Linked DNA regions of Homo sapiens: regions 1 and 3 are each linked to region 2. The links are contacts of gene promoters, found by promoter capture Hi-C in blood cells and fetal thymus (Javierre and others, 2016). All regions are on one chromosome and are shown on one strand. Each heading gives the region's core, a stretch centred on a gene start or on the middle of the fragment in contact. The rest is flanking DNA. Distances are from core to core; before and after follow the strand shown. Region 1 has its middle 5.9 kb from the start of KLHDC8A. Region 2 holds the start of SLC60A1 (solute carrier family 60 member 1). Region 3 overlaps LEMD1 (LEM domain containing 1).

Region 1 (2,700 bases), core at 173-2,672, 210 kb before region 2:
GTTGTTTAAAATTAAGATTTAAGTGAGTATCTTTTACCCACTGTCTATTTTTTACCCCGTCTATTATTCCTAGAAATTTCTCTTTGTTTTTGGTAGAGTTGGGATCTCACTTTGTTGCCCAGGCTGGTCTTGAACTCCTGGACTCGATTGAACCTCCCACCTCAGCCTTCCAAAGTGCTGGGATTACAAGCATGAGCCACCACGCCCGGCCCAACATTTTTATTTCCTGAATCTGGCAACCTCATGACAAGAGCAAATGACCACTCTCATACTTGGAGTTTCCTGCAGCCTGCCCAACTCCAAAGTTGCCTTGTGAGTTCTGAAAGGAACTGGGAATGGCAGCCCTTGCTTGGATGTCATGTCAGAGGACTAGGCACAGTGGTTGACACCTGTAATCCCAGCTCTTGGGAGACTGAGGCAGGAAAATGCTTGAAGCCAGGAGTTTTAGACAAGCCTGGGCACCATAGTGAGACACCTGCAACACCTCCCACCCCCAATCTCTATCAAAAAAAATTAGCCAGGGACAGTTAAATGTGCGTGTAGTCCTAGCTGCTCAGGAGGCTGAGGCAAGAGGATCACTTGAGCCCAGGAGTTCAAGGCTGCAGTGAGCTATGATCACACATCATTGCATTCTAACCTGGGAGATAGAGTGAGACCATGTCTCTTAAAAAAAAAAAAAAAAAAAGAGCGGCGCTTCTCAGAAGGCAGTAGAGAGACCTTGAAAGTTTTTGAGCCAAGAAGTGAAGTGATCAGAGCAGTGTTTGGAATATTAATCTGGCAGCAGCATAAACAGTGTTTAGTCCAGGAGAAGAGTTTCATGATAAGGAGATCACATAGTCTTCCTTTGTGATTATTTGTGGGGCACCCACTATGTGCCAGACACAATGCTAAACACCAGGGGCATGATGGTGAAAAAGAAATGTATAGTTCCTCTCTTAGTGAAGCTTATGAATAAATTAACAAGCAATTGATTTCAATAAAGGGAGGTGCATTTCATCAGAGAAGAACTTGGCCTACTTAGAAGATTATCAAAATAGCCTACTGGTGAGAAGATGAGGACCTAAATTAGGGTCATGGAAATGGGAATGTAAGATGTTTTTGCAAAGCGAGATTTTAGAATATATTCAGGACATGATCAAGTGATTTGACTCTTAATTACAAGCATAGTTGGAGCAGGAGAAAAACAGATCATTAAAATCCAGAGATAACCCCAAATGCCAATTACTCAGGCGTTTCATGCTTCTCTCTCATCCATGGGTTATGACTGTATTTGTGTCTTTATGCACACACAAAACAGTAAAGCATAGTGGTTTCGAGAAAGAGCTTCAAAGACCTAAATGTAAGAGCTAAAACTATACAACTCTCCGGAGAAAACATAAGCATAAATCTTAATGACCTTGGAGTAGGCAATGTTTTCTTAGATATGACAGGAAAGCGCAAGCAACAAAAGGAAAAAATAGATACGTTGTAGCATGTATCAGTACTTTCTTTTTTGCCTAACAATATTTCATTGTATGAATATTCCATGTTTTATTTATCTATTCATCAGTTGACAGGATTTCTTTTAGGGCTGATAAAATGTTCTAAAATTGATTGTGGTGAGGGTTGCACAAATCCATTTGGCAAAAGCCATTGAATTGTACATTTTAAATGGCTGAATTGTGTGGTGTGTGAATTATTTCTCGACAAAGCTGTGTTTCTTTTTAAAGAGCAAAGCCTTGAGCATCAGATAGATATGGGTTCATATCCTAGTTCTCTGCTTGACCCTGAATAAATCAACTTTCTGAGTCTCAGTTTCTTCATCTGTAAAATCGGATTATTATAGTACCTATTTCACAGGACTGTTGAGAGGATTAAATGAAATAATGTGTGTAAAATACTTAGCACAATTCCAGGCATATAAGCTTTATTATTATTTTTTTTATGTTGCCTAGGCTGGTCTCAATCTCCTGGGCTCCAGTGATCCTCCCGCCTTAGCCTCCCAAAGTGCTGAGATTACAGGCGTGAGCCAGCGCACCCAGCCTATAATAAGCTTTTAATTAATGTGACTTATACTAGTAAGGTTGGATGATTAGCAACTTTAGTGTGTGACCACAGACCATCCTTAATTCTAGCACCTTAAGTTATACAAGGGTATTCCCTGAAAACGTCATGGGACTAGGTATACATTTAGGGAAGTAACAGCTGTGCAATCCCACATATCATTTCAAAGCCAAAAAATAGAGTTCTCAGTTGTCAAAACACAATCCTCAGAATTAAAAACCAAAACTAGACGACACTCAGAGTTAAACCAATTCTGGCTTTGATAGCCAAACTCAGTAGGGGGTATTTATATTATCTTCACATCCTTTGAGTGGAATTCTATGAAGATATCTTAGGTAGATATGTGATTGACTAAAAGATGGTATAACCAGGAACAGAGCAGTAAGAAAAAGTTCTGTCATAATTTTCATAGCTTCCACATGTTTATTTTCCATCATCTAAATGTGAACTGTAAAAATTAAATGCTTGTATTTACACAAACAAGTTATACTGTGAAAGCACAGCTGCCTGTGTACATATGAAAAGATTTGTTAACTAGTTTGATTGGAAAATAATGTAAAAAAAATCTTAAGTAGCAACTTTCACAGTTTAAATTTCTTTTATTAATCCTCTTGTCCAACTTAAATGAAGAAAGGCTTACAAGTAAAGAGAAGATAA
Region 2 (2,700 bases), core at 190-2,689:
GAAGACTCAGTCAAAAACTTGTGGTTATGATTTGTTTGGTGTTTTTTCTTTTTTTTTCCCCCAGAGGGTAGCTTTTCAGTTTATTACAATTACTGTGCAGGCCCCCCATCATCACTATCGAATAAGTACTTGTCATTACCCACAGAGTGATGAGCCAGAGGGACCCTGGGGCTCCCCCTTCTCTGGGGCTCACTGTCCAAGAAGGGATAGGGCAGATGCAGGGGTGCGGCTATGAGATGGGACCAGTACCTGCAAGAGAAATTGGTTGCCCCACCTCATGCCAAGTTGTCTTGGGGACACCCGCCCACATACCTCCTCAGTCTTTTCAGCCCTGGTCCCCCTGGTGGGCCAGTGGAAATGATGTCATGGCTCCTGTCATTACCAGAAGACCTGGGCAGAGGGGACACCGCAGGGCCTTACTGTTCTGCCTCCAGGGGCCAGATCCTGGCTCCCTTAGGAGCGGGAACACACAGAACCCACCAGCCAGCCCGAGGCCACCTAATGAAGGGACAGCCTAGGTCAGCTGCAGGCTCCTCGAAGGACACCCAGTCTAGAGAATAATCAACCCCTACTCACTGCCAGGGATTTATCCATGGAAGAAAGAATTTTCCCCAGAACTCTTTTTAAATTTTTTTTTCTAGGAGATTATTTCAGAATTCCTCCCGGGGTTCCTCCAGGACGCGGCCCTTCCCTCTCTGCCCTCCTCCAACTAGTTAGAAGGAGAGAGAGAGAGTCAGCATAGACCAGCGTCATCCTCCTCCTTCCCGCACCTGGCCAGGTGGGGAGGAGGGCCTCATCTCAGGCCCTTCCAGGGAGCTTAGTGTGAGGAAGATGTTGAGTTTCTAGGGTTCTCCTTCTAAAGGGCAATGTGATTAACCTCTTGGGGTTCTAATGAAAGCCATGCACGAATACTCTCCCAAGGAGAAACATATGTACAACAAGATTTTGCCTTCTGTTCTGGGGGAAAGGGGGGTGCCGTTAGACCCTCGAAGTCCATCTGTGAAGCGCCTAGGTTTAAAGGGGTCCGGGTTTCCTCCACTGCCACAGCCCGGGTGCGGGGAGAGGGCCCCTAGCCTTATCCGGAGATACAGGATGTCTCGGGCTCTCCATCTGCCGGGCTCTAAAATGGGCGCTCGGTCCCTGGGGGCTGCATCCGGAGGCTGGGGGGACTGGTCGAGGGAGAGCGGGCGGGGGGCAGCGCGGCTCCCGGTTGGTCTCCGCAGCCGGGGGAGGGCGAGCATGTGCGCTCGGGTAGGAGGGGGAGGCCGGCGCCTGGCACCGCACGGGGAAGGCGCGGGAGCGGACGCACTGCCCACCCGCCGCAGAGGCGCCCCCGCCGCCGCCCGGGCCCAAGGGCGGGGCCCCTCGCTGGGGCGGCCCCTCCCCGCCCCTCCCTCCCCGCCGCGGGCCTCCCCAGCCCGGCCGGCCCTCCCGCGGGCGGCACTCGGGCACCGGGCTCGCCGGGACCAGATCCGCGAGCCCGTCAGCCTGCGCCATGGGCTGCGACGGCCGCGTGTCGGGGCTGCTCCGCCGCAACCTGCAGCCCACGCTCACCTACTGGAGCGTCTTCTTCAGCTTCGGCCTGTGCATCGCCTTCCTGGGGCCCACGCTGCTGGACCTGCGCTGTCAGACGCACAGCTCGCTGCCCCAGATCTCCTGGGTCTTCTTCTCGCAGCAGCTCTGCCTCCTGCTGGGCAGCGCCCTCGGGGGCGTCTTCAAAAGGACGTGAGTGCCGCGCCCGTGCGCCCCCGCCCCGCGGCCCCCGGCACCCACCCTCGCCGGGCCGACCCTTCCCTCCCGCCCCGCGACCCGGCCTCTCCCCCGGCCCCGTGGGGCTGCCCGTCGCCCCCGCCTCCCGGCCGCGACCACCCCTCCCAGCTCCATCTTGGCCGAAGAGCTGCCTCCCTCCCTCCCTCCCTCCCCCGCAGCTCTCCCTGGAAAACTCTCTCCAGAGACTGAAGGTGACTTCTGGCTTATTTATTTGTCATCACTCATCCCTGTGAGAGGATAAAACCAGTTCCCACCTGCTTCCCCCACCCACCGCCCCGTGGGGAGAGGAGTGATAGAGTTTGCAGAGGTGGGGAGGGTGCCCCTCTTACACAGCTCCTCTGGGGTTTGTCAGTAGCCCCGGCTGCCGGGGGCGGGATTGGCAGTGAGGTGGAAGGACCGTGGGAGGGCCAGCTCTGTGGCGGTGCAGGGTGCTGGAGGTGGCCTGCGGCTTGACTGATTCCCAGGGCCAGGCTCCACTGTAGGCAGCTCCACATCAGCTAACACAGGCTGTCCCTTCCCCCGGGTAGCCACGGGGTTTAGTGGGTTCTGTGTAGCCCTCCTCCTGAGGCAGCCAGAACATGGTTCCTGCATGGGCCCCCGAGACACACAGGACCTCACCGTTAAGGCCAGGTTGGGAGGGGCAGGGCACTTTACCCATAGCTTGGTAAGGTGACTCTCCAGCCCTGGTGCCAAGGTTCCCCTCCACTCCCCACCCACCTCATCCTACTCCTGCTGGGCCTCTGCCCCACGACAGGGCTCTGGACTCTCCCTGGCACCACCCCCAGAAATCCCCCTTTGACACTATTGCAGAGCCTTATTCTCTCGGCTTAAATTGGACAGGGCCACCTCCGGGCTCCCTTGTGGAAAGACAGCCAGATTCACTCTCCCAGTGCAGCATGGAAAACAGAGACCCATAATAGAATAGGGAAT
Region 3 (2,700 bases), core at 15-2,514, 180 kb before region 2:
CTAACAACTCTAGGAGGTAATTATTACAGTCACCGTTTTACAGAGGAGGAAGTAGAGGCTTAGGGAGCTGAGTTATTTGCCCTAGACAACACAATTCATAAAAGGCATAGCTATAATTTAAACCCAGATATTCTGGCTCCAATGCTGTAAAAATACATTTCTATTATTATAGAAGAACTCATCATTGAAAATATGTCAAAACATGTTTTTAAAAACTTTTCATTAATTAATAAATTATCAAAATCATTAATTTCCTACGGAAGTAACATTTTTAGTCAATAGTTCCATTCTTAATTTCTCGGATGAATTGACATTTTCATAAGGGTGTTTTTTTCCAGGTGGACTATTTTGTGCTAATTCTGGCCTACTTAGGTATATCACAGTCAGTCTGAAATAATATTGCATATGACATTTTATGTCATACTGTATCACATTACAGTTAACTACAAAACACTGGGCTAACATCCAGAGCCAGAAAGAACAATAATCATTTTGTATTCTCATTAAAATCACCAAAAAGTACATTTGCTTTCTTTTTTTTTTTTTTTTTTTTTTTTTTTTTGAGATAGAGTCTTGCTCTGTCGCCCAGGCTGGAGTGCAGTGCCACAATCTCGGCTCACTGCAACCTCCGCTTCCCGGGTTCAAGCAATTCTCCTGCCTCAGCCTCCCGAGTAGCTGAGACTACAGGTGCATGCCACCATGCCTGGCTAATTTTTGTATTTTTAGTAGAGATGGGGAGTCACTATGTTGGCCAGGCTGGTCTTGAACTCCTGACCTTAAGTGATCCACCCACCTCAGCCTCCCAAAGTGCTGGGATTACAGGCGTGAGCCACTGTGCCCAGCCTACATTTGGTTTTTTAAAAATAATCTACCTTGACTAGAGCCATCACTAACTGTCCATAAAGAAATACAAGTTTGTTTGCATTTCCACAAGACATATATTTACCGTGTAGGCTTGAAGTTGGCCAAAATTTCACAGGCTGACACCTGCAATTAAGGGTAGTCAAGAAAAGGGTGCTGAGAGCCCAGTTTCCTACCCTTTCTTTCTCTTATTCTCCCAAGACTCCTTACCGCTGGACTTGGAGAAGTCAGAAGGCAGGGATGTCCCTGAAGCTTAGGGATGGCATTCTCTCCAAACTGAAACATAATACATTCTCCAATTGCTCTAATTCAATAATGCAATTACTTCTTAAAGGCCTATATGTAGAATTGGACACTTTTACAAATGACATAGCAAACTGGAAGTTATGACCTGATTACAGGCAGAAAAAAGAAAAACTTCCTTTTGATTTACAGACCTTTAAAACTGAGTTAACTCCAAATCCCTTTATTGACTAAAAATTATTAAGTTGGTAAAAGATCTATAATCTTAGCAGACTTTTACTTCATTGTTTTTGCCTGAATCCTGATATGATAAAGCTTTTATTTAAAACGTTGTGTTCTCTTAACCCAAGTAATGATTTTGAATTAACTAAAAGGCTTTAAAAATTATCTGCACCACATTAACAAAAGCAAGGTTAAAAACCTTATGATCATCTCCATTCCTGGTTTTTAAAAAATCTTCTAGCAACCAGGGGAGGTGGCTCACGCCTGTAATTGCAGCACTTTGGGAGGACGAGTCAGGTGGATCACTTGAGGCCAGGAGTTCGAGACCAGCCTGGCCAACATGGTGAAACTCCACCTCTACTAAAAATACAAAAATTAGCCGGGCATGGTGGTGTGCATCTGTAATCTCAGCTACTTGGGAGGCTGGGGCAGGAGAATCGCTTGAACCTGGGAGGTGGAGGTTGCAGTGAGCCGAGATTACGCCACTGCACTCCAGCCTGGGCGACAGAGCTACACTCTCTCTCTAAAAAAAAAAAAAACAACAAACTTTTAGTAAACCAGGAATAGGAACTTCCTTAACTTGATAAAAGACATGTTCAAAAACCTACACCATAAGTCATACTCAAAGGTAAAATATTAGAAGTATTTCCTTTAAAATCAGGACCAAGGAAAGAATGTCCACTGTCATCGCTCTACTTCACTAGTATAATAAAAAGTCTTAGCCAGCACAGTAAAACAAAAAGAAATTAAAGCTATACAAACCAGGCTACAAAATAATCTGCAGAAAAAGTATTACAATTGCAAAGAGTTTATTGTTGTAAAATCAATATACAGAAGTCAACTTCATTTCTATACACCAGTAACAATTTAAAATATGCTTTAAAAGAGGTCCTATTCCCAATGGAGCAAAAATTAAAAGCCTACCTACTAATAAAGCTAACAAAAGATGAGCATATCCTTTACTAAGAAAATTATGCAATCTTACTGAAGGACATTAAAGGAAATTTCAATAAATGTAAAGAAATTAAAATTCCCATTTAAATACACAGGAACACAAAGATGGGAACAATAAGCAGGGGATTCCAAAAGGGGCAGCGAGGAAGGCAAGGGCTGAAAACACATGTTTATGTTTACTACCTGGGCGATGCGATCATTAGAAGCCCAATTCTCAGCACCGCACAATATACCTGTGTAATACCTGTGTAACAAACCTGCGCAAGTACCCCCTGAATCTAAAATTTTAAAGTAAATAAATAATCCATTAAAAATACCGATGTATATATGGAAACTTGATATATGACAAGAACTAACATTGCAGCTCAGAAGAAAAAAAAATGGACCATTGGAAAACAGTATTGGGAACAAATTGGGGTA

What was found. The method cuts DNA at HindIII sites, captures the fragments that hold promoters and counts their contacts. A CHiCAGO score of 5 or more calls a contact.
Region 1: a fragment that was not itself captured here is called in contact with the fragment with the promoter of SLC60A1 in region 2 in 2 of 17 cell types (endothelial precursors and M0 macrophages); the score reaches 5.2 in endothelial precursors.
Region 3: a fragment that was not itself captured here is called in contact with the fragment with the promoter of SLC60A1 in region 2 in 1 of 17 cell types (M1 macrophages); the score reaches 5.1 in M1 macrophages.

Annotation. Positions count from the first base shown.
Region 1 is chr1:205,361,432-205,364,131 of GRCh38, forward strand. No RefSeq gene overlaps it. Among named protein-coding and RNA genes, the nearest start is that of KLHDC8A, 5.9 kb to the left of the region's middle. The HindIII fragment of the contact is 960 bases long and covers 943-1,902 here.
Region 2 is chr1:205,567,575-205,570,274 of GRCh38, forward strand. SLC60A1 (solute carrier family 60 member 1) reads left to right here and starts at 1,440. Exons shown (of 10, transcript NM_181644.5): 1 at 1,440-1,725. The coding sequence starts at 1,496. It overlaps SLC60A1-AS1 (SLC60A1 antisense RNA 1), which reads right to left and starts at 1,731. Exons shown (of 4, transcript NR_152721.1): 1 at 1,555-1,731. RefSeq lists enhancers at 1,721-2,270, 2,271-2,700. The HindIII fragment of the contact is 4,650 bases long and covers 1-2,700 here.
Region 3 is chr1:205,388,505-205,391,204 of GRCh38, forward strand. All of the region lies in intron 4 of LEMD1 (LEM domain containing 1), which reads right to left. Among named protein-coding and RNA genes, the nearest start is that of LEMD1-AS1, 17 kb to the left of the region's middle. The HindIII fragment of the contact is 306 bases long and covers 1,112-1,417 here.